7 separate regions of the Homo sapiens genome follow, and regions 2, 3, 4, 5, 6 and 7 are each linked to region 1. Evidence: promoter capture Hi-C in 16 types of primary human blood cells and fetal thymus (Javierre and others, 2016). All regions are on one chromosome and are shown on one strand. Each heading gives the region's core, a stretch centred on a gene start or on the middle of the fragment in contact. The rest is flanking DNA. Distances are from core to core; before and after follow the strand shown. Region 1 holds the start of CMAS (cytidine monophosphate N-acetylneuraminic acid synthetase). Region 2 has its middle 3.1 kb from the start of C2CD5. Region 3 overlaps GYS2 (glycogen synthase 2). Region 4 overlaps C2CD5 (C2 calcium dependent domain containing 5). Region 5 overlaps C2CD5 (C2 calcium dependent domain containing 5). Region 6 overlaps C2CD5 (C2 calcium dependent domain containing 5). Region 7 overlaps C2CD5 (C2 calcium dependent domain containing 5).

Region 1 (3,627 bases), core at 370-2,869:
GGAAGGGCTGGGCCCTCAGTTAATTCACAGACTAAGAGATGTAAAGTATCCAGTACCTCTCATAGGACCCAAAACATCAAAGACTTCTTCTCTCCCCTCAAAAATGGCCAAGACCTGAGAAGTACAAAATCCTTTTGCCCTCTGGGAGAAGGCAAGCCGACACACTACAATCCATTCTTTCTGTTTGTATCAGCCTCCATCTCAGAAATGTAAAAGACTCTACTTCCAAATATAGGCTTGCAAACATGCTGAAAGACAAAATGCATGCTAGGTCAGAGATGCCTGCTTTAAAGTCTCTTTTTTTTTTTTTCCTAAGAGAGGTGTGTGTGGGTGTATGTCTTTGAGCCTCTTGGCTGGATCAGGGTTTAAATGCTCAGGCGTGGCGGCTCATGCCTATAATCCCAGCACTTTGAGAGGCTGAGGCGGGCAGATCACTTGAGGTCAGGAGTTCAAGACCAGCCTGGCCAACCTGGTGAAACCCCCAACTCAACTAAAAATACAAAAATTATCTGGGTGTGGTGGTGCCCCTCTGTAATCCCAGCTACTCAGGACGCTTGAGAATGGGTGGCAGAGGGTTGCAGCGAGCCGAGATTGTGCCACTGCACTCCAGCCTTCTGGGGGACACAGTGAGAATCTGTCTCAAAAAAAAAAAAGAGTTTAAATGATGCCTCCAGAATTCTTTCTCTTTAATCCCTACATGTCATTGTTCTGCTTCCTCAGGGAGAACATCAGTCTTCCAGCCCATTTCAGAACAGCAAAGCCCCCCTGCCGCCCTACCCTACCCTTGCCCTGAGGCTTCAGGTTAACAAGGTCCTTAGCACCCAGTCAGCACGAGAAAGATCCTTTCTTTCCAAGACTCTCTGGAAAGGACTCCAGTGGGCTCTGCTTGGTCATATGCCTGTCCCTAGACCACAGGTGTGTTAAGGAAAATGGGGTGCGTAGATGGACCAGCTTGGGTCACACACAGTGCAGAGAATGTGAGGGAAACCCTCACCGGATGAGAGAGGGATCAATTCCTAAAAGGAAAAGATTTTTAGCAGACAACAAAACAAAACCAAAAAACCAAGTGTCGGCCACACTAGAGGTGACCAGTAAAGCTGACTTCCAAATTTCTGCTGCTAGGGAATGCTGATGTCGATCAAAGTGCGGAGAGCATATGAAAAATGGAGTTTTTAAAACGTTGAGTTTAAGGCGCCTGTAGGATATTTGAATGAGCTGGTCAGTAATTTCTTGGAAAAAATGACCCAGGGGCATTAAAAAAAGGTGTATGTTTAAAATGTACATTTTAAAATATAAAATGGATTCGTGTCAGGGTGCATCAAGGTATGCAACGGGAAACCCACCACAATTCTAAAGTGGGGAAGTTCTTCAGCAATTATAAATACTTTTTTTCTTTTTTAATTTTAGAAATTTACAGACACTTGCAAGCACCCCAAAAGCCGCACTTCCTCCAAATATCTCTGGACTCCCACTGCTTGACTTAGTTTTGGGGTCACCTCATCAGAGCCTACTTGGCCTACTGGCCCCAGACGAGGCGGCCGCGGACTACAATTCCCAGCGAGCACCGCGAGGGGCGGGGGAGGGGGCGGGGCGAGGGACGGCCGCGCGCGCCAGCTGCCAGGCGGGGATCGGGCGGCGCCGAGCTGAGGTGGTGAGGGACTAGCTCCCGGATGTGGAGAAGCTGGGGAGAAGGCGTGGGAGGAAGATGGACTCGGTGGAGAAGGGGGCCGCCACCTCCGTCTCCAACCCGCGGGGGCGACCGTCCCGGGGCCGGCCGCCGAAGCTGCAGCGCAACTCTCGCGGCGGCCAGGGCCGAGGTGTGGAGAAGCCCCCGCACCTGGCAGCCCTAATTCTGGCCCGGGGAGGCAGCAAAGGCATCCCCCTGAAGAACATTAAGCACCTGGCGGGGGTCCCGCTCATTGGCTGGGTCCTGCGTGCGGCCCTGGATTCAGGGGCCTTCCAGAGGTGCGCATGTGCGAGAGTGGGCGGCGCGGCCTGGGCGGGGGTCGGGAGAGGGAGTCGGGCTGCTGGAGGGGCTGGGGCCTCCGGGGCCACCGCTCTTGGAAGGGGGCCATCTCTCATGCCAGGGATGTGCAAGATCCGGGGTGCCTGGGGCCGGGCTGAGAGCCCAGGAGGAAGGGCTCCAGCTCCTTCCTTGTTCCGTAGCTGCCAATGGTCATAACCTGGGACAGTTCCTGTCTCCGCCCTTGAGAATCATCCGTAAAAGGGGAGATTACACCTCCCCAACCGTCCCCTCCTCCCGGGTTGACCTTACGGGGAAAAGTAAAGGAGGCCACCCCGGTGCAACATCTGTGATAATATGTGAACTTCTTTGGATGGGGGCCATCGAAGCTCCCCTGTTGCTCAGCCTCTGATAACTGCTTGGTGCTGCTCGATTAGGGAGGCATCAGGTTCATGAATGGAGTTGAGTGTCGGGGTGTCAGAGCTGAATTTCAAGCTCAGCTTGGAGATCTTTTCCTAACCTTTGAAAAATACTCCAGCTATCTTCCTGTGAGTCAGCACAATCTAGAAAACTCCCTACATTTATAAATACGTGAGACTCAGTGGGAAGGTGTACAACTGACTGTTTTATGATATATTAATACTTACAAATCATTTAATCATACCTTTGGAACCTCGCCTGCCCTATGGACAGTTTTAATTATGCGTAATTTAGATACATTGCCAAATTGGTCAGGAGTTACAAGCTGATGTTATTCATAAAAGAAGGGAGATCGAATTCTGTGCCAAGAATGAATTTACACATATAGCTTCAACCTAACTACATTTGAATGTGTTGTTATTGTGGAAATTAATTTATGTTAACCTTTTGATGTTTCGATTTTTAAAGAGATGACTGTTTTTGAAGTCATCTCTTTTTCTTTTTGAACCTATATTTGCTTACCCATATTAATATATGGGTAAATGATTTTCATTTAACCAGTCTTGTTCAAAAACGGGAGATGCCAAAAAAGTATAAATATACTAATTTTCTTAATGTTTCAACCCAAAAGAAGTCCTGGATGGACCAAGGCAAATAGGAGCCACCACTCAGAAGATAACACTAGTGCAATAGGAAGTGTGCGAAGGAGAGATAGGGAAGGACCTGGGGATTTTGTTCAATTCAGTAGCTATTTACTGAGCCCTAATTTCTGCTATACATGTCCAAGGGAATACCAAGATGATTGGGACACAGTTTTTGTCCTTGTGAAGCTCACAAACTTTGGGATATTTTTACATTCTTAGAAAGGGTACAAACTAAAAAGGACTGAGAGAAGTAGGTGCATCCAGACTGCAGTAATATAGTGAAATATCATTTTTGTGAAATGAACTAGAGATCAAAATCATATTCACAGTAAATGGAGAACAAAACTGTTAATACCATTTACAACTCTTAGGTTGTATATATCAGGAAACCCTGTTCAAACTGGCATAACAAAAGAGGGAAAGGCTTATTAAGGTACAGTCAGATTCAAGGACAAAAAAATGATTCATTCATTCAGCATACTTACTGCCTACCTACTATGTAACAGGCACTGTTGTATGTACCGAACCACGTGTAGTAGCAGTAGAGACAGCCCTTAGTCTCATAGAGCTTACGTTATAATAAGGAAAGACATGCAGTAT
Region 2 (3,627 bases), core at 766-3,265, 500 kb after region 1:
AAACATGGAGAGCGTTAAACATCTTGAAGAATTGACCCAACTATAAATAAAGTAAGGTGTTATCTACAGGCTCAGACCATATTAGGGAAATTGAGGCACACACAAGATGTAAATAAATCAGTCCTTACCAAATATCAAAATCAGCATTGACAGTATACCCAGTATCAACAAAATCAGAGTTCATGCCGGCTCAAAGATTGTAACATTTCATTCCTAAGTGAAGATATCCGTATGATCTTTTTAACTTCGAAAATACTCAATAGAGTAAATACTCCAAACAGTAGTGATCCCGAATTATCTTTTCATGACAAAAATTCCTTCTATGGCAGGAATATTGTTCACATAAGTGAGAAATTGAACTCCTACAGAGAAAACGACTTCCTCAAAATAAAAATCTAAAAAAATCGCTTGCTTTTTGGACTAGAGAAACTTTTATCAATTCAAACTATGTCAAAGGAATAGGGGTCATAGATCCCATGCGAATTTCCTTAGGTCCACCTGCAGCTTTTTCTGGAGTCTGACTCTGCCCTTAAAATACCCTTGCCAGAATTCTGAAGGTTGGCTACACTATGTGATCAACGTTTTTTATTTATTTATTTATTTAGAGACAGGGACTCACTCTGTGTCCCACACTGGAGTGCAGTGACATGATCATAGCTCACTACAGCCTCAATCTTCTGGGCCAAGCGATCCTCCCACCTCAGCCCCCCAAGTTCCTGGGACTACAAGCACATACCACCATGCACCGCTAGTTTTTTAAATTTTTTGAAGAGATGGAGTCTCCCTGTATTGCCCAGGCTGGTCTCAATCCTGGTTTAAGCCATCCTCCTGCCTTGACCTCACAAAGTGGTGGGATTACAGGCATGAGCCATCTTGCCCGGCATGATCAGTGTTTTTTGTTGTTTTGGGTGGTAGAGTTGAAGTCGTTTTTGTGGTGAAATCGAAGTATTACCGTATTACCAACTCATTTTTTAAAATATGAAATGTATAAAGAAAAAATATTAGAAAATTGAAGTTTAGCACCAATATTAATGGAAAATAATGCATTGTGTTCCAAAATGTAAAAAGTTGCAAATTGCACAATTAGAGGTTAGCAATCTCAGCCTCCTAATTAGTAGACTTTGAGGTACTTGTACGTACTTGTTGCCTTAGGCTTCATCAACAAGAGATTATAATTAAGATGCTTCCTGAAAACTATTTTTAGTAGATTTAAGCCTGACTTCAGTTGAACTGTTTCCTAATAATTGTTCTCGTTTGTTTTCATTAATGCTGGGAACAGTGCTAACTTTCTGACAAATCTACCATGATGTGACTCCTGATTACCTTGTTTAGCTTCATACCCTGACACTCTTTTTGCATTTTAAATTATCAATAACAAGAATTAACGTGTATTGATGGTTTGCCGCACACCAGCTACTGAATTCAGCGTTTCACAGCTGTTAAGGCTCCCTAAAATCCTGAGGTAGGAATTATCAGCCTTCATTTTATAAATGAGAAAATTATGGCTTTTCAAAGCTCTGGTGATTACCCAAGGTCACAAAGCTTCTAATGATAGAGGCAGGTTTTAAATCTAGACAATGTGATTCCAAGAACTCACGTCTTTGAAGATTACATGTAGTTTTCTAATAAACTATACTTTTCCTTCTTCCTGGAGTATCTCTCTCATAGTCATCCTACCAAATAGCTATGAATTCATAACTCAGTTCAAAAGTCAATACTCTGGTTTCTCTTTAGAGTGTATAAATCTTTTGCCTTTTACAAAAGTCACTTCTACATCTTCTCTAATCTCCTTCCTAATAAATATGCTCTTCACTCCCACCTATGCTACTACTAAATCTAATACATTTGTTATTATACTTTCCATGCAATAATTATTTATCCATCTCTCTCCCCCCCAACCCCCACTAAACCATGAGCACTCTGAGGGAATGGATTGCTTCTCACTCATCTCTCAATTCTCAGTTCTTTGTCCTGTGCCCTTCATGTGATCAACAAATTATTGTGGAATTAAATTAACAGTTAACACTTGCTATTACTACTTAGATTGCTCTTCTTTCCTGGCTTCCTAAAATGTTCCTGTTAATCTTTCCCATTCTTTCAGGTTAAATTACTCAAGGGTTGTCAGTACTTGGTGCCCTCTCCTCACTTCCTAAGCGCTCCAAAAACTATTAATATCTGGGTTTAGCCACCACCACTCTACAAAAACAGCTTTCACTAATGCCATCAATAACCTCTGGTTGCTAAATGCAATGAACACTTTTTTTAGTTTTAAGTTTTTATTTTTGAGATGGGGTCTTGCTGTGTTGCCCAGACTGGTCTCAAACCCTTGGGTTCATGCAGTCCTTCTGCCTCAGGCTCCCAAGTTGCTGAGACTACAGGCACGTGCCACCATGCCTGGCTTCAGTTTTTTATTTACGTGACTCTCAGTAGCATTTGATGCTGTTGACCACGCTGTCCTTAAAATAATCTTCCTCTTGGTATTCAGAAACCAAGCTTCTCTTACCTATTCTGGTTTATACATCTGTCTTCTCAGCCTACTCATTGTCCTTAACTATTAAATATGTGTTTTTCTCAGGTTCAGTTTTTGTCTCTATTCTCTTCCAACTGTACTGTCTCCCTAGGTGATCTCATCCAAGCTCACAATTTTAATTTCCATCTGTTTAGTCAGGGACTCTCAAATCGTTATCTTTAGTCTGTAACTCGCTTCTGGGATCTTGACCCATATATGCAACTGCCAAGTTACTATTTCCATTTGGAGTATCAAAGTGACCTCAAAAGTCAAGATGTCCAAAAGTGACCTCAAAAGTCAAGATGTCCAAAACTGACCTGATTTTCTTTACCTTTCCCATAACTACAACAACGAGAATGACAACAACAACAACAAAAGACCTGGTAGTCTTCTACTAAACAGCAATGCCAACTACATAGTCAATTGCTCAAGCCAGAAACTCACTGATTTAAGTTTGAAAGTGGGCTGGGATTACAAGTATAATTATACAAATGACAACTTGGGCTCAGTTCAGTTACTTTTGCTTTGATTTTTTTTTTTCCTTTGGGCCAGGGTCCCACTCTGTTACCCAGGCTACAGTGCGGTGGCAAGATCACAGTTCACCACAGCCTCAACCTCCCAGGCTCAGGTGATCCTCCAACCTTAGCCTCCTGAATAGCTGGGACTGCAGGCGCACACCACCACATCTGGCTAATTTTTATATTTTAGTAGAGATGAGGTCTCCCCATGTTGCCCAGGCTGATCTCGAACTCTTGGGCTCAAGTGATCTGCCTGCCTCATCCTCCCAAAGTGCTAGGATTGCAGGTGTGAGCCACCATGTGGCTCACTTTTGCTTTGATTAAGGAGTAAAAATGAGATAAGTAGGCATCTAGGTAAACTCATCATCTTATTAGTTCCCTTGTATCTTAATGTACCATGGGCATAAGGTACCATACCATACTTAATGTACCATGGGCATAAGGACTGCATCAAGTAAAATATTCTCTAAATTGGAAGATTATTGCAGTGGAACACATTGCTTTTTTTGGGAGTTTTGCTCTTGTTGCCCAGGCTGGAGTGCAATGGTGTGATCTCTGCTCACTGCCGCCTCCGCCTCCCAGGTTCAAGTGATTGTCCTG
Region 3 (3,627 bases), core at 724-3,223, 480 kb before region 1:
ATTGTCAATATATATTTTGAATTAAAATCTCATGAAGTCTCTCTCAGCTTCAGACTGACATATCAACCCTTAATGAGTTCATCATTGAATTAGAACTTGCCTGCATATAAATGTATTCTTATTTGTACAGCTATTTACAAGTTTTGTCAAATGAAGGGTAAAATACTGTTCACATGACATAACACATTTTCAAAGGTTATTAATTCCTTGATATTTGGAACAAAATTAATAAGTTATGATGTCTAAATTGTTAAATTTGAATAGTGAAACCTTAAGTGATTGAAGTAGAAAGCATTTCAAGCACCTACCTTAATAATGCATCATAGAGTTTTTTTCCAAACTTTTCCTTCACAGAATGTGCAACATCCCTGTTTGAAACAGAAAGATTTATCATTTAAACAGTATGACAATGTTTAATCTTTATTTGTCACGATAATGCTATTGTTTTGTTGACATTCTTTGAAATTACATTCTTTGAAATTACAGGTATCTTTTTTATAGTCTCTTCTATTATTTTACTACTTGCCAATTCAGCTTAAGTTGACATCTCCAGAGCTGAGGCAACAGAACACCATGGCCAGCACAAAGAGCTTAAAATTTTTTTGCTTCATGATGATTGGAACAGGATAGAGAGCAGAGAGGGGGAGTAGATGAAGGTATAGGTGTAACAAGACGGGAATTCGTTGATCATTGTTGAATCTGAACTATGAGTATACAGGGAGTCATATTACTAAGCTTTTTACTTGACATGTTCTTAGAATTTCACAATAGAAAGTTAAAAAATGTTTGACTCATCTTTAAAGATTTCTACAGGGCCTTGTTCCTTCAATGGTAGCTCATTCCAAAATTTGTATAACACCTATAATGTTATAACCATTACGATAACCTAAAATAGTAGCACGATGAAAAGAGAGTCAAGTATTATTTGTCTGTAATAATCTTAAGGAAAAAACAAAGTTCAAGGCGATACATGAGATGTCATTCACTTAAAAGAAATCTTTTCACATTTATTGCTAGAGAACATTCACAGGTTGTGAGATTACCACAGCTGTTTTCGCACTGCTTGTCCTTTCAGGGTTTCCACGTTGAAATTATTTGTCTTGGCAGGCATAATGAAAAACACCATCACTGTGATGTCACTTTTATGCATCTGATGAGGAATTAGAAAACACAGAGTCAACTATCAAAGATTTTTAAAAAGTATGATAGATGGAACTTAAACATTGAAAAGTAGAGTTTTAAAATATCAGTAGATAAAAGGTATAGTTATTTATGTTTCACAGAGAGATTATATTCACCTTCCTGAGACTTTTTCAGAAATTTTAATTAAAATCAAAATAAATTTTAAATTTTCAGTCTGTACTTGCCAATAAACAAATTGACTTTCAATCAGTATTTGTCAGTTAACAATTTGAAAATTCAAACAAAATATTTTCGTGCCTTTGACCATCTAGAATAGATAACAATTGCTATTGATGACACTGTGCTTTTCTGTGGTTAAAAAAATAGCATGAATGAGAGCTAATATTACAAGACCAAAATTAGTTCTTTAAAATTTCAGATTGGAAGTTTAATGAAGATTTAAGCTTTGGTAAAAGCTAAAATAATATTTCAATTTTTTTGCTTATTCATGTTGATTGATGACAGATAGATTATTTTTACTTTTCCGCTAAATGTCTTGATTCTCATGATGTTGTATTTTGGTTTTTAGCCCTAAAGCAAAGAAACAAGCACATGACGAGCACTTTTGGGATAGCAGACACTGTGCTGGGTGCTTTAAATATACTACTAATAATCATGTACAATAGGCATTTCTCTCCTCATTTTATTAATGTCAAAAGAAAGGAATGAGAGGTTAAATATTTTCTCTGAGTCCTATAACAGGTTAGTGCCAAAGCTGACATTTAAACTGCTGGCTTAGCATCTCTCAAAAGGAAATGACTTGTTAAGAAGCTGTAAGAATGAAAGCATAAACTCACTTAAAATCATGAACCTCTATGAAGGTTTATGTGTTCTGGAAATGACTGACTAGCTCCAGAGTGTGGGGCACTTTACCGTCTAGTATGCAGCCTCGGCCCTCTAGGGCCTGACATTTTATTAGGGAAAGCTACTGAAGGCATACAATAGGAAACTCACCCTAGGAACAGCCAAGGTGCTATCAAAAAATAAATGTACTATGTGGAAAGAGAATTCCTTCTTTTAACTTCTCCAAGTATTGCAGTTATCTTTTATGTCTAGTATAATAGTAATCAGTCTTTTCTTCATATCTATAAATAAAGTGAATATTTAATAACTATATAAATGCATTTATTAATAATGTCCCTAAAGATTGTATATGTGATATAGTTGTGAGTCCATTATAAAGCTTGTTGAATGAATATATACTAGGAAATATTAAGTAAGGTTATTTAAGAATAATCTTTTTAGTCTTCAGTTCTGTTTTGCATAGTTGGATTTTATTAATAAATCGCTTGTTTATTAACGTGGCTTTAGTAAATTTTTTTAGCATATTTGGCATAATGTCTGCTCTAAAGCAAAAAATTTATGTCCAAGAAATAAAAATTTAACTGGAGGGTAGTACAGAACTCAGGAAAGTTTAGATTTTCTCATTATCTCATTAAGATTGAAATTCTACACTCTTCTCCTGTGAATATTTTCCTATTACTTATTCTACATTTTTATGTGATGGGATTGGAATATAAACCAATAGCTGCCATCAATAGCTATGACATGGTATCTTTTTTTATAGTTGCTTTTATTTATGCATATTGTGTTGCTCGGTTAGTTGAGAACCCACTTTGTATCCCACCTTCCTGAGTAAAAAAAATGATTTCACATGGTTGGGAGTAAGAACCTTCTTTTTCCTCCTTCATGCTTTCATGTGGTGTGACATCCACTAGTTCAAGAGTTTAAAACTCTTAGTCGCAGGGAGGTGGTGTGGCTGGGGAGGTGAGTGAACCGAGTGTGTATGTGTCTGCCCTGTTCTATAGAGAGTTCGTGCTGTCGGGTTTGGCTGCCAGCTATGTGGCACGTGCTACTCTGAAGGCCTGCTTCAGTCGGGAGAGGAGAGTGATGGTCAGAGCTTCCTATGATTAAATGGCTAAGAGTCATAACAAGGTTCAGTATTAGGATGCGTATTGTCATGTGCATAAGCCACATCTTCCATTATAGTCTTCACTGATTTTCTGAAAATTGATATTTTGCTCTGCATTTACTGGATTTCTCTATATTTACTTTTCAATTGATTACAAACTCATGTGAGGGAAAAGGGATGTTATAATGACTTATTAAAACATAGAAGGGGAGAATGGGATAAGCTTAATGAGACATATAATGGGATAAGCTTAAGATTCTCCAAAAAAAAAAAAAAAAAAAAAAAGATGACATTATAGACAAACACACAAGTCAACAGTGTGGTAACTCCAATATGTAAATTGAAAGGCTGAAGCCATTTTTAGAATACGATTATCGTTTATTCTCTTGAAAACTATTTAAGAAGCCAAAAAATTCTTCACTTCCCACAGAAGAAAGTTCTCCCTACAAGAGTGTTATACCATGTCCTAGAGCTTTCTTACCCTCAGCAGGAAATTTAGCCTGGATAAGGATTCTAGGAAGATGTCAGCTCCT
Region 4 (3,627 bases), core at 708-3,207, 480 kb after region 1:
ATTGAAGAGGTCTACTTTGACAACTACATTGATTTCCCCACGGATACCTATAAATTTAAAAAGAAAATCAAGTTTCTACCTTAAGAAAGTAATGTACAATTAAATAATGAAGCAAATTAATGCTAAATAATGATTTTAAAATACAATGATTTAACTCACAATTTTTTGAACTTTACCATGGTGCAAAACCATTCTGATTTTCACTTTCAGTCCAGAATTCAATGAATTACATGAGATGTTCAATACTTTATTTAAAAAATAGTCTTTGTTTTAGTTGATTCTGTCCAACTGTAGGCTAATATAAGTGTTCGGTGCACATTTGAGATAGGCTAGGCTAAGCTATAATGTTTGGTTGATTAGATATATTAAATGCATTTTCAACTTGGGATGAGTTTATCTGGATATAACGCCATCACAAATCAAGGTGCATCTGTAATGTGTTGATCATAATAGTAATGCCAGCTTTGTTTCCTAGTTATTTTCTTTTTCAGTAGTTTCTGTATATTTTCTGAAGCACAACACGTATGCATTAGAATATGAATAATTTTCATTTTCACAAGTCTCCACTTTGACCCAAGACTAATTAGAAAGGAGTCCCATTTGAATTGATGATGATGATAATGATTATGGTGACAACATTTGCTGAGCACTGATACACGATGTACTAAACACTTTACAGGTAGTATCTCAGAGCAGTCACATCAACCCAATAAGGTAGTATCATCCCCATTTTACAAAGGAAGAAATTTTTAATAAAAATTAAGTAATTTACAGTGTCAATAGCTGTTAAGTGGCAGATCCAGGATTAAAATTCAGATCTTTATGATCCCAGATTATATATTCTTAACAATGCAAGAATCTGATTTAAAACAAAAGAAGTTTTATTCTTTTCAATGAATATAAGTTAAAGCAAGCTAACTAAAAAATTCCAAGCCAGGAGTAGTGGCTCATGCCTGTAATCTCAGTGCTTTGGGAGGCAAGGCAGGAGGACAGCTTGAGCTCAGGGGTTTGAGACCAGCCTGGGCAACACAGCGAGAAAAAAATTAAGTAAATAAAAAATTCCAAGAATAAGGGTTTTCAAAACATGCTCTGATAAATAAGAATGACCCAGATCTTATCTCTAAACATTTACTAAATATTTTCACTTGACTGTCCTGACTTCATGTCAAATTCATACTTATGGTGGAAGACTTAAGAAAACTGACTCAATAATTTACCTACTAAAATATTAAGAAAGCAAATCCCAGCACTCTGGGAAGCTGAGGCAGGCAGATCACTTGAGCTCTAGAGTTAAGGCCAGCCTAGCCAATATGGCAAAACCGTGTCTCTACAAAAAATTTAAAAATCAGCCAGGTGTCATGGCATGTGCCTGCAATGGCATGTGCCTGCAATCGCAACTGCCCGGGAGGCCCTGCTTCAGGCAACAAAAAACTTTTAAGTAACTTTTAAGTACAAAAATCATTATTAATCAGTTTGAAAATGTGTTTTAGAAACACAGTATCAATACTAGATCAGTTTTAAATCATGCATTTACTTACTATACTATACAAATTTAGCAAGCATTATCTCAAATTATGTTGAGAGAAGCAACAATTTTACTAACAATAATTTACTATTATTTATTTTTAAAAAGGCATCATCTTAAGATATATTATATACATATATATATATATTTTTTTTTTTTTTTTTTGAGCTAGAGTTTCACTCTTGTTGCACAGGACACGATCTCAGCTCACCACAACCTCCGCCTCCCGGGTTCAAGTGATTCTCCTGCCTCACCCTCCCAAGTAGCTGGGATTACAGGCATGCACCACCATGCCCAGCTAATTTTGTATTTTTAGTAGAGACGGGGTTTCTCCATGTTGATCAGGCTGGTCTCGAACTCCCGACCTCAGGTGATCCACCCGCCTCAGCCTCCCAAAGTGCTGGGATTACAGGCATGAGCCACCGCACCTAGCCTAAAGATACATATTTTAAACCAGCAAATATAGCACAAATGTCTTTAAGGACAAATAAAAAAGATTAAGATTGTTATTTATAATACTTTCTTATTATTCCTTACCATGTATGGTGTCATAAATTGGAAACCATCCTGAGATGACTGTTGCAGCTTCACTATACAGTAAAGGATCAATATCAATGTACACTTTACCAATGGCATCATTTGCACTGTAAGTATCATGGTCAAGAACTGTGATCTGTAAAGGTTCATCTTGTAAGTCTTCATCATCCACCTACAAGTATACCTTAAAATTAAAACTCATATAGTTTTTAAATCTTAATTACCACAAATGTATACCTATATCAAATGAAAAGGATGACACATCTGCAAATAAAATCTTACAGATTTCTAAGCACCAAAGTAAAGAAAAGAATTAACACACAAAAAGATATAGCTCCTTTTCCTACACAATATCCCATCTTTCTAAAGAAAAAAAGTTTATCTCTCAGCACAAGACTGGGATGACTAACAACAAAAAAATTTAAATCTCAATTTTTTTTACATATTATCCTGTGTTTTACAACTTTGCCTATGATACATAGCAAAAATGCCTAAGGAATGTCATATTAGAGTTCATGTAGTATCTATAGAGAGAAGAATGCTAATTGAGCACAATGACACCACAATTTCTAAGGGCGATTTCAGAGAACAGAACCATAAGCAAAATTAACATTATGTGTAAGAAAAAACAACCTAAGTTCACAAATTAAGTTCATGATATAAACATCTACCCTCTCTCCTTTTATTTAGTCATTATCGAGTTGTTATCATATGCCAAACACTGTGCCAAACAGAGGCATTTACAATGGAGAACAGTGCAAAATGATTTCCTCATGGAAGACGTACTCACTATTTTGGCTGCCACCTTCTGGATATCATGCCATTATCTAATTTACCAGTCCCCTTCATCAAATATAGTGGCCAGAAGGGAACATATTATAGACACTATTAAGATTGGGACAGAATACCAAAGGATTATTATTTTCTATAATTAGAAAATTATACTTTTAAAATGCAGTCCATGGATGTTCTTCTTTACATCAGACATACCATACTATTAAGACTGAGTCTGTGGTTGGCTAAAATCTCTGTATCATTCTTACATATGCTTTGGTCAAGTGATAGCTCTGCAACCCTTATACTCTGGTTGGTTTTTTAAACTTGGATATGAAACATTTATGCCTTTCCCTATCCCCTATTTAATTTATTGTTGATGTTAAGCTAATAATCCAGCCTCTGAAGATTATTTTAAAAATTAAAGAATATTAAGGAATTATTGATATCATTAGTGTGATAATGTGATCTAAGGTTTTGTTTATTTATAAGGGGTCCTCCTTTATAAGAGGTATATAATTTGGAATTCACAGATGAAATCATATAACATCTCAAATTTGCCTTAAAATATCCCCACAAGGAAAACCGGGGTGGGCAGGAGTTAAAAAGGCAAAACAAGAACAGTAGAACGTAGACAGCTGTTAAAGGTGGGTGAGGTTCAATATACTAATCTATCTTTGTGCATGCTTGAAATTTTCCATAATGAAATGTTAAAATAAAATGATCATTTTGAATCCCAATCCATTCCAAATCATCTGTCATCCAATGGCATTCTCTCCACTACTATTGTT
Region 5 (3,627 bases), core at 398-2,897, 460 kb after region 1:
AAAATAGTAATGCTCTGTATCCTCAAAAATAGTCATTATCTACAATATTTTGGTCCAATAACTTCAAAGCATTTTTACCCTTCTTTCTTTCTTTTTTTTTTTTTTTTTTTTGAGACAGAGTTTCGCTCTTGTCGCCCAGGCTGGAGTGTAGTGGCACAATCTCGGCTCACTGCAACCTCCACCTCCCGGGTTCAAGCAATTCTCTGCCTCAGCTTCCCAAGTAGCTGGGATTACAGGTGCCTGCCACCACGCTCAGCTGATTTTTGTATTTTTAGTATTTTACAGGCATGAGCCACTGTGTCCGGCCACCCTTCTTTTTATAGCTGTCAATACAAGCCTCACAAAGAGGTCACTGGATGTGACAATTTAAAATTTTCAAAAATATATACGTCTATACACCAAATAAGAATACTAATATAACTTCAGGTTTAATGTATGTTGATTGAGCATCTAGTCAATGAGAGATGCAAGAACACATTCCATATGGAAAGTTCCCACTATTCATCATGCTTATTTTAGACGTAGAAAAATCACCAGAGGATTTCTGATCAAAGGGCCTGAATCCAGTGGGACTTTGATGCCTACTCGCTTTTATAATTATGGTCCTATGTTTTAAAGAAGTAAGCTACTATTCTTACTCGTTTGCTTAAACATAACAAATAGCTACATAAAAGAAACTGAAGGACCAGATGTTAGTTTGCTCATCTGTTTTTCAATTCTTAGCTACTCTAGACAACGCCTACAATTACTTTGTTGCCCATGCTGGATTCCACCAATGACAGAGTGGAATCCCAGCACAGTGCTGGGATCTGGGTTCTGTGTCTCCTGAGTGCTGCCTGGGTAGACTGGAGGGGACAGGTGGCCGTGGTCAAAGACAGTCCCAGTGTGTTCAAGTTACACAATGAGCTCTAAGAAATGACAGCTCCAGTAGCCTGCTCAGCAAGAGGGTCTTTGACCCATGGACTGGTTTGGTTCCCTCTGCTACCTATCTGTTCCTATGACACCCACAGTGTTTACATAGGTCTTGTTGTGTTGCCCAGGTTGTTGCCCAAGTCTGGCTATGTTGCCCTGGGCTCAAGCGATCCTCCTTGCCCCGGCCTCCTGAGTAGCTGGGACAACAGGCACATGCTACTGTGCCCAGCTTTACAATTACATTTTTAAAAATACCTGTTTTAAGAACAAGGAAAATAAGTAATCTATAAAAAGCTACTGCTAATGAAAAGAACTAACATCTTAAACTAATGGCCATAATGGTCAATTTATAAAAATGTTTATCTCCCCTGGGTCAAAGAAAAGTTATTTAAGGATTTCCTTAAAGTGATATTGTGACCAAAAATAAATCAATTGGTTTTTTACAGAAAAGTAACTAAAATACACTTAGTTTATTTATAATTAAGATGACTACAAATATATTAAAGTAACGTGCTAGTTTATACTTTCTTTTCATTTCTCTTTTCAGTTAGATTTGGCTTTAAAAAAATCATAAAAATCAATTTTAATAACCACAATTTAAATAAAGGAAACATTGAAACTTTTTAAGAACATACCAGGATTGTGGATACGATCCAAAAGCTTCACAGAACGTGCACTAACTACACCCCCAACGTGTACAAGGAATCCAGGAGGAAATGCCGTCAAGGTAAAAAATGGAAATTCCTAGTGGAAAGAATAAGGGAAAAATACAACTTATCGTGTGTAGAGTGTAAAAAATTTGCTTATTAAAAAGCTTGCCATAGCAACTGTATTACATCCCTTGAAATAAAAGGCCACCCATTACACATCACACATGCTTTGTAATTAAAAGTTTAATTAAATGTTTAGAGTTTCAAATCCATTTCCCCATATATACAATGTTATACAGAATCCAAAGACCCATTTCATCAGTTCTCAATGAAGAAAAAAAAAGTGTTCCTTCAATTTAAGATATTTGAAACACACTCTTCCTTCCTCTGAATCTCCAACTCTGATGGAACTTCTCAATGAGATGAGGGAACTGCCCTATCCCTCTTCCCCTTTATCTATCAGTGGTTTAGACACCCCCTTCACATGAACACCCAGTATAAGACACTGGTAAAGACTCTAAAAACCTGGGGCCAAGGGATCTAAATGAAAGTGGGACCAAAGGAGGATAAGTGAGAGGATAAGCAGTGTGGGTTAAGAGAAAGAGGATAGTGGCAAATATCAAGTTGAGATGGGTAGAGAATCATTGTGTGAGGTTACTCTATCAACACCAATGTGGCAGGAACAAATACAAGTGCATAAAGGTACATTAAGGAAAGTTGAAAGGTACATAGATAACAGCTAGGAAGGCAATAAAATTCCACAAGTTCTTGCAAGCTTTATTCTATCCTTCTCTCTTAAAGAATAAAATTCATCAACTTAGAGACAAAGAGAAACACAAAAAAGACAAATGAAAAAGCCAAGAAAGGAAATTCATTGAAATAGGACCCAATAAGAAAACGGAGCTCCTGTGAAAACATGGAGGCCCCTCACATTACACAAATTGGATGCAAGTAAGGAAAACTTGATGTTTGACCTGTCTGGCTGCAAGATTAATGTAGCTCACTTAACTGGAATCACTTACCAGTAGCCTCAGCTATTTAGAACATAATTGAGCATAATTGAGAAAAATAAGCAAAACAGGGCTCTCAACGGTCAAAAGAACTGTTACGGTCTCAAGCTCTAAAGCTCATATACTTTATTCATAGGAGACTCCCACAGATCATATTCATACTATATTATAGTAGTTATAAATTTTTATCTTAAAAAGAAACAACTCTAAAATTTATCATGATCTCATTTTCAAGACCACCTCAGATTAAATGCAACAAATAAAAGCTGGTAAAGAGATACAGAATACCACCAGAAGCAGGCTTATTAAAAGCAGCAAGAATTATTCACTGGCTGCTTCAAGCATGGAGAATACAAACTCACAAAAGCATGATCACAAAGCACGGCAACTTGGAATCATTTTGCACAAAAGCTATCAGTCCTGTGCACCTCAGTAACCCATGAAGGTTGAGTATAAAAAAGTTTCTAAAATTTATTTAGAAATAAATTCAGTTCAAATTTAGAAGTAATCTTTAAACAAGAGAAAGAAAAATCTATGCTATGTAAGAAAAGAGTAAAAAACTGGTCTATGGAAGTGGTTAGGTATAGCCCAGCAGAAAGGTAGAGGGAAAATAAGGAAGAGGATGGAAGGAGAGTACGTCACTTATAATAAATGTATTATAATATGTTTAGTCAAAATGCATCCTTATTTCCATTTAAACTTCTTTTTCTGTCCTCTAAGTTTTGTTCCTGGAAATCTAATAAAAATTGTACAAACTAGAGGATTACCTCATAATGAATTCATATTTATTATTAGGAAATTTGAATGTAAATGAAGTTTTGAGTCATAAAAATATTCGAATGGATTTATTGTTAGGCACAGCACACACGGGGTAATTACACAATATAAGTATTAAGAAAGAAGTTGGGAAAACAGTTCGGTAATCACTGAGCAAGTACATTTGAACTTTGTAAATGTGAGTTTTAAATGAGAAACGTATAGGTAAGCTTATATTATTAATAATGTAGTTAGGTCTTTCAGATTTTTTTTTCAGTGTTAGGATCACTTAAATTTTA
Region 6 (3,627 bases), core at 804-3,303, 440 kb after region 1:
GCTATCAGTCATGACTTCAAATAAATACAACTGCTGAGGACTAGCACATTGCATTTTTTCAACCACAGGTATAACCTGTGCATTTAGGTTATTTTATTTTCCTTTCAGGAAAATACTCAATATAATTAAACATCTGCTCTCTAACATCCTATACAAATGAATGGCTGATGATTTTAGAATCACTGACAGTTTGGTTTAAAGACAGAAGCTCATTTAATTTATTGTTTTTAATAGAATATTTCTTAAATGACATTTTAAGGAAATGCCGAGAATGTTGGTAGAACTAGAGTGTGTAGTGTAAGAAAAAGATGCAAAATTTAAGCCTTCCTTAAACTGCAGAATTAACTTGTGAATGGCAATTATTACTCAATATTGTGATAAAGAGACAACAGAGCCCTCAGAAATAATGCCACGCATCTACAACTATCTGATTTTTGACAAACCTGACAAAAACAAGAAATGGGGAAAGGATTCCCTATTTAATAAATGCTGCTGGGAAAACCGGCTAGCCATATGTAGAAAGCTGAAATTGGATCCCTTCCTTACACCTTATACAAAAATTAATTTAAGATGGATTAAAGACTTAAATGTTAGACCTAAAACCATAAAAACCCTAGAAGAAAACCTAGGCAATACCATTCAGGACATAGGCATGGACAAGGACTTCATGTCTAAAACACCAAAAGCAATGGCAACAAAAGCCAAAATTGACAAATGGGATCTAATTCAACTAAAGAGCTTCTGCACAGCAAAAGAAACTACCATCAGAGTGAACAGGCAACCTACAGAATGGGAGAAAATTTTTGCAATCTATCCATCTGACAAAGGGCTAATATCCAGAATCTACAATGAACTCAAACAAATTTACAAGAAAAAAACAACTCCATCAAAAAGTAGGTGAAGGATATGAACAGACATTTCTCAAAAGAAGACATTTATGCAGCCAAAAGACACATGAAAAAATGCTCATCATCACTGGCCATCAGAGAAATGCAAATCAAAACCACGATGAGATACCATACCACACCAGTTAGAATGGTGATCATTAAAAAGTCAGGAAACAACAGGTGCTGGAGAGGATGTGGAGAAATAGGAACACTTTTACACTGTTGGTGGGAATGTAAACTAGTTCAACCATTGTGGAAGTCAGTGTGGCAATTCCTCAGGGATCTAGAACTAGAAATACCATTTGACCCAGCCATCCCATTACTGGGTATATACCCAAAGGATTATAAATCATGCTGCTATAAAGACACATGCACACGTATGTTTATTGCGGCACTATTCACAATAGCAAACACTTGGAACCAACCCAAATGTCCAACAATGATAGAATGGATTAAGAAAATGTGGCACCTAGACACCATGGAATACTATGCAGCCATAAAAAAGGATGAGTTCATGTCCTTTGTAGGGACATGGATGAAGCTGGAAACCATCATTCTCAGCAAACTATCACAAGGACAAAAAACCAAACACTGCACGTTCTCACTCATAGGTGGGAATGAGAACACATGGACACAGGAAGGGGAACATCACACATCAGGGCCTGTTGTGGGGTAGGGGGAGGGGGGAGGGATAGCATTAGGAGATAAACCTAATGTTAAATGACGAGTTAATGGGTGCAGCACATCAACATGGCACAGGTATACATATGTAACAAACCTGCACGTTGTGCACATGTACCCTAAAACTTAAAGTATAATTAAAAAAAAACAAAGAAATAGCAAACAAATGAGGATAAGAATTTCTATAGGCAGCATAGTGAATTAGCATGAAAAATGACAGCTGACTTCAAGGCAAGACGTAGGAAATCTTACAAAGCATATAAGAATTTGAAAAGGATGGCAATCTAGCATCATTTGATATAGGAACTCTCCAAATTTTTTCTAATAAGCAGTAATAATTTTTATAGCAGAAAGAAAAGGCATTTTCCTTGTTTTTTTCTTTTTTTTTTTACAACTAGGGGTGGCACCTATTGTATTGAACTACTATATAAGAGAATTTATTGTATTCGTCCAAGCCACAATACAGAAAAAAACCAAGCTACATGAAAAAGGTCATTTGTTAAATTAGGCTTCCTATCAACTTAAGAATGAAATCTACAGACGTGTAAGAACTATATTGTATCACTGGTACAACTCACTGACAAAGAGAGTTTCCTCAATAGAATATTCTAATTATTTACTGTGCTTCAAAATGCCCCACCTTCACTTTCCTATTTACAATGACCTTTAAGGCTCTGGAATTCATAATAGTCAATATCCATTTTAATACTGACAAAAGAAACTGACCAAGTTCCTCTAGTGAATACCAGAACTAGAATATCTTAGTTATAAATGCGTGCAAGTTTATACTAAACTTGACAAGATACAGAATTTTTTTGCTTTTTTTTTTTTTTTAAATAGAGTCTCACTCTGTTGCCCAGGTTAGAGAACAGTGGTGCCATCTTGGCTCACTGCAACCTCCACCTCCCAGGCTCAAGCAATCAATTCTTCTGCCTTAGCCTCCTGAGTAGCTGGGATTAGAGGCGCCCACCATCACACCAGGCTAATTTTTGTATTTTTAGTGGAGACGGGGTTTCACCATGTTGGCCAGGCTGGTCTCAAACTCCTGACCTCAAGTGATCCACCCACCTCAGCCTCACAAAGTGCTAGGATTACAGGCGTGAGCCACCGCACTTGGCCTTTGCTTCCTTTCTTAATATATACTTAATATATTAATACTGGGGAGGGGGGAAGTAAATAGGCACACTGTGGCATAAGGGGTAATTAAAATCTGTATTATCCAGGTAGACTCTGGTACCAAACTAATAGTTTATATATGTGTATATATATATATATTTAAATATACAGTCACCCTTCCGTATCCATGGGTTTGGCATGTATGGATTCAACCAATCACAGGTTGAAAATAGGAAAACAATAAAAAATCCCACAAAATTCCAAAAAGCAAAACTTGAATTTGCCACATGCTCAGCATTACACTGAATCCATGAAAATGAAATGATGAACAGGTATTATATCAGGTATTATAAATAATCTAGAGATTATTTAAAGTATAGGGGAGAATGTGCATAGGTTACATGCAAATACTATACCATTTTATATAAGGGACTTGAGCATCTGCAGGTTTTGGTATCTGCAAGGGGTCCTGGAACCAATTCCCTATGGACACGGAAGGACCATATATATTATATCTACAGATAATCTTGATAAAATGCAGTACTTTTACTATTTTGTAAATTAAGAATTGTTTTTTATAAAAATTGTTTCATAACCTCTTTCTGTTTTTGGAGGTGAGACACAGGGAAATGAAAGGAAGAGAAAGATCCAAAGATTATTTCTATATCATGACAAAGCAAAAAAAAATGGACACCTGAAATTCTTCAACTGGTAATCATACATGTCACTTATCAAGACACTAGAAACAATAATGTGTGCCATATAGTGCAGAATCCAATACTCCTCTGTTACTACGGGTTAGTTAAAAATTAGTGAAGTGCTTGGTCCTGATTTCTACACTGTACCCCTGTAAGCCACCCTACGGAGAAGAATTATCCCAACTCTCAGAAAAAAAGTCGACCTCTCCCTTCTCTGCCCTTATAGAAAATAAGCCAGGCTGCCA
Region 7 (3,627 bases), core at 410-2,909, 430 kb after region 1:
GTAACTCACTTAGCACAGTGCTTTGCAAATAATAAATGCTAGACAATAATTAATATCCTATACTTTGTCCATTACTAGCTTTTGTGATACTTAAACCGGTTACATGTCTTCTTTGATAAATATCTGAACACATAATCATTTAATACATCTACCTGACATTAACTCACTGCTCAAATCTTATCAATGCTATACATGTAGAATGTAATCAACTTTTAAAAGTTTAGGACTAATCAGGAATATTTCATTTAGCCAGTAAATCATTCAAACTATACAAGAAAGTATAGTATCCCCCATTATGTGTTTTTCAGAACACACAGTTTCCAATAATTTGGATTTCTTCAGAATATATATTAAGACTACTTCCTAAATTTTACTGGATTAAGGCCACCTTTGTGAATCTGTTGAACACTATGGAACTTGTCCTGAAAATAATACACAGGCACACAATTGTGCTTACTACATCAGTAGGTCCTCAGATGCCTTGAAGACCTTGCCAGAGATCTTAGTATAGAAACCCTTATATTACTGCAGAATTAATAGGCTATAATTTAAGTCTAAAAAACCAGCAGCATTCTCTATGTAAACATCAGTCAAATACCACCCAGTCGCGTGTGAAAAATATCAAGTCAGCCATACGCTTATCCACACAGTTATCTTCATAAAGATGAACAGAAAAAGCAGCAAATATTCTTCAAGAAATAAGTAATTTATTGAATCCACCTGTCCTGTATATTTTATCACTGAACCATAACACAGACAAACACAAACTGAACTTCCTATTCAGTAAAGATTTACCTCTTTGCAATGACTTTTCAACAGGGGTTTTTGTGGTTTGTAAAGCCTGATTTTTGTCAAAAGTGATTGCGACTGCCGTGACTGTAACCTAGAATTATAAAAACAATAATGGTTAGCAAAATAATCACTGCCAAAACTAAGTTTCTTACATATTTTTTTCAGTACCACGGAACAACCTACACCAAATACCTTTTCTGGTTAAAATCCTCAACCAGAATTATGTATAAATTCAAATCATACACAAACTACAACTATACCAAACAGTTATACCTAAATCTAGATATTCCAGAAAGAGCTCAAGAACCTTCTCTAAAAAATGGGAACTGGTGAAATCCCACATGATGGGTACAGATCCTACTGTATACATGCTGAAGCATACGTGTGCTTACCCCCTCAGATAACTAAAGTTCAGAAAAAGAAACACACATGGCCTAATGCATACTAACATATATTTTTTAATATTGTGAGGTAAACTAGTATATGTTTATTTAATTACGGCAAAATTATGATAAACAGATAATGAAAATAATAAAACAGATCAGATAAAGACTAATAATGGACTAAATCTTAATTACCTGAATTAATTCATCTTCAGGCAGAGATACTGTAAAATTTACATGGCAAAGGCAGCAGGGGATCATAGATCGTAGTTTAAAGTACAGGCTCTACACAATAGAAAATATTAGTAATGTCACTTTTTTATTTAAAAATTTTTAAAAGCTGATTTTTTTAATGTACATTATATTATAGCAAATGGAGAGTTAAAAATAAAACAAAACTGGTCCACTTTTGTTTTGTGTATTTTTACACTAACGATATACTTTTTAATATTTAAGTAGACAATAAGATTTAATCGTCAATAAGTCACAAAAAATAATATAGTAAGTTTTTTTAAATATACACATATACACTAGATTTTTATGGAAGTTAAAGCTATTAACTAAAACTATTTCTTTTATAATTTGATATAGTAAGGGGGAGAGGACAACTTTAGTATCTCACCCGCTGATAGAGGTAAGGTAAGTAGGTAAGAATGATTCAGCCCACAACTGTGTAAGGTATTACAGACAATACAGCAATATAGACACTTAAAATTTCATTATTATAGACGCATGAAATAAAATTTAGTCAGAAGGTTCCTACCTTGAGCAAATTTTCACAGAGATCATTAAAGTTCTTATTGAGAGCTTGATTAGTCAGGTTGAGGCTGCTTAATCTGATTACTCTTACTGAAGTGAACATCTAAATGTGGGGTGACATAACATGTCATTTTATTATTTTTAACTAAATATTTTAACAGTTGATAAATTGCCAAATAATGAACAATACTAACTAATGTAGTAGAATAAGGATGGTATTTTAATTGCAATAAGGAGGTAAAAAAAAAAAGACAAATATTTAAATGGAACTTACTAAAATAACTTATGTGTTATGTGCTTAAAATTAAGAAAAAAAGGTTTACCTGTATTTCAGAGGTCCAATTATTTATACCGGGCATAATTTCTGTATTACAACTATAAAAGCCTGTCAAAATAAATTGTAATCAAAATATATGATAATATTTCATTGATTTTTGTGTTAAATGACATTTTTCAATTATTATATGAAGTTCTAACTATAACACCCTTCATTTTTTTTCTTCTAAAACTATACCTGCAGGAGACTTTAAACCATCCTAATAAATTATCACAGGTTTTTTTTTCCGTGTATAAATATAAAAGGACTAAAAATCACTTCCACCTAAGTTCTAACATAAGTATTTTTAAGGTATGTTTTCTACCTTGGAGTAGCAAAGTACATGACAAGCTGTGACACTGTGATAAGTCCTTCTTTTAAAGTAAAATTAGTACTGTAACAATTATGAGCTAAAACATTTATATGTAAAACTAGTTTCATCTCAAAGATAACTTTTTTGTTCACCTGAAGGAGGAGGAACATCAGTAAGTAGAGAATGGACATCTTCCATGGCATCTGTGTCATCAATCTTAAAATAGAGATTAAAACTATTTTATAAGTAGTAAATGCATAATTATTTCACGTTTTAAAAGAACTATTAATAGAGTCAAGAAAAGGCAGAGTCATTTTTCCTAAGTAAAAATATGTAACAAGAAAAAAATTCTAATATCAGTAAATTTCTCCACAGTAATAACCACAAATACTTCCAAGTGAAATATTTTACGTACAAAGTACACTAAGTTAAAAAAGAAAACTAGCTCTTTCTCAAGCCTTTATGAGAATATGTTTCTAAAGACAAAGACATCATAAGCAATCATTATTCTAATTTGTTTAAATTAATAAAGTGTAATGAGATCCTTTCACTAAATGCAGAACTCCTTTACAATGGAATTAGGTACAGATAAATTTAAAGACATATCTAATAATAGGTCTAAACTCTATTTTTTTAATAAAATAAATAGGTCTAAATTCTATTCTTCTTACATCACCATATTCCACTGTGAATAATAAATAGGGAAACTATCCAGCTGGACAGGCGCTGACATTCATCTGCACCTCAGTTTCTAAGTCCTAACCTGCAGACTCGCTAAGCTTCTTCCCACATCACCCTCAGGACTTCAAGAACCACTTTCACTTCCACTTCACGTGGCTACCCACAGTCACAGCCATACCTCAACCCATTATTCCCCAAAACGTTCCACACCCAGGATCTCGAGCATTCTCCAACTACAGTCCTGTCTCTTTGTCCTCTCTTACTGGATATTCCACTTGCCCTCTGTCCTCTGCCCATGTTTGAAGCACTTTGTTCTCATGTGCCTCTCTACTTAGCCAGGATCCCAAGATCAGACTTATCAATAATGCCCTAGATCAAACTTC

Evidence for each region. Contacts are between HindIII fragments. The CHiCAGO score rates a contact against its expected background, and 5 or more counts as called.
Region 2: a contact is called between a fragment that was not itself captured here and the fragment with the promoter of CMAS in region 1, in 9 of 17 cell types (non-activated CD4 T cells, total CD8 T cells, monocytes and 6 more). The highest score is 10.8, in non-activated CD4 T cells.
Region 3: a fragment that was not itself captured here is called in contact with the fragment with the promoter of CMAS in region 1 in 1 of 17 cell types (non-activated CD4 T cells); the score reaches 6.2 in non-activated CD4 T cells.
Region 4: a fragment that was not itself captured here is called in contact with the fragment with the promoter of CMAS in region 1 in 4 of 17 cell types (non-activated CD4 T cells, activated CD4 T cells, naive CD8 T cells and 1 more); the score reaches 9.1 in non-activated CD4 T cells.
Region 5: a contact is called between a fragment that was not itself captured here and the fragment with the promoter of CMAS in region 1, in 3 of 17 cell types (total CD4 T cells, non-activated CD4 T cells and activated CD4 T cells). The highest score is 7.1, in total CD4 T cells.
Region 6: a contact is called between a fragment that was not itself captured here and the fragment with the promoter of CMAS in region 1, in 7 of 17 cell types (activated CD4 T cells, naive CD8 T cells, total CD4 T cells and 4 more). The highest score is 9.8, in activated CD4 T cells.
Region 7: a fragment that was not itself captured here is called in contact with the fragment with the promoter of CMAS in region 1 in 8 of 17 cell types (activated CD4 T cells, non-activated CD4 T cells, erythroblasts and 5 more); the score reaches 9.2 in activated CD4 T cells.

The regions. Positions count from the first base shown.
Region 1 is chr12:22,044,599-22,048,225 of GRCh38, forward strand. It overlaps CMAS (cytidine monophosphate N-acetylneuraminic acid synthetase), which reads left to right and starts at 1,620. Exons shown (of 8, transcript NM_018686.6): 1 at 1,620-1,965. The coding sequence starts at 1,706. RefSeq lists enhancers at 1,437-1,731, 2,047-2,752 and silencers at 1,504-1,873, 1,517-1,744. The HindIII fragment of the contact is 10,395 bases long and covers 1-3,627 here.
Region 2 is chr12:22,545,841-22,549,467 of GRCh38, forward strand. No RefSeq gene overlaps it. Among named protein-coding and RNA genes, the nearest start is that of C2CD5, 3.1 kb to the left of the region's middle. The HindIII fragment of the contact is 951 bases long and covers 1,541-2,491 here.
Region 3 is chr12:21,559,343-21,562,969 of GRCh38, forward strand. It overlaps GYS2 (glycogen synthase 2), which reads right to left. Exons shown (of 16, transcript NM_021957.4): 7 at 3,576-3,627; 8 at 1,044-1,150; 9 at 309-368. Among named protein-coding and RNA genes, the nearest start is that of SPX, 35 kb to the left of the region's middle. The HindIII fragment of the contact is 779 bases long and covers 1,585-2,363 here.
Region 4 is chr12:22,525,659-22,529,285 of GRCh38, forward strand. It overlaps C2CD5 (C2 calcium dependent domain containing 5), which reads right to left. Exons shown (of 27, transcript NM_001286176.2): 4 at 2,063-2,234; 5 at 1-47. Among named protein-coding and RNA genes, the nearest start is that of C2CD5, 17 kb to the right of the region's middle. The HindIII fragment of the contact is 6,677 bases long and covers 1-3,627 here.
Region 5 is chr12:22,505,164-22,508,790 of GRCh38, forward strand. It overlaps C2CD5 (C2 calcium dependent domain containing 5), which reads right to left. Exons shown (of 27, transcript NM_001286176.2): 10 at 1,548-1,656. Among named protein-coding and RNA genes, the nearest start is that of C2CD5, 38 kb to the right of the region's middle. RefSeq lists a silencer at 772-1,066. The HindIII fragment of the contact is 154 bases long and covers 1,571-1,724 here.
Region 6 is chr12:22,486,489-22,490,115 of GRCh38, forward strand. The region is part of intron 12 of C2CD5 (C2 calcium dependent domain containing 5); the gene reads right to left. Among named protein-coding and RNA genes, the nearest start is that of C2CD5, 56 kb to the right of the region's middle. The HindIII fragment of the contact is 4,369 bases long and covers 1-3,627 here.
Region 7 is chr12:22,470,029-22,473,655 of GRCh38, forward strand. C2CD5 (C2 calcium dependent domain containing 5) reads right to left here. Exons shown (of 27, transcript NM_001286176.2): 17 at 2,716-2,779; 18 at 2,258-2,319; 19 at 1,939-2,037; 20 at 1,371-1,460; 21 at 796-883. Among named protein-coding and RNA genes, the nearest start is that of C2CD5, 73 kb to the right of the region's middle. The HindIII fragment of the contact is 3,361 bases long and covers 1-3,340 here.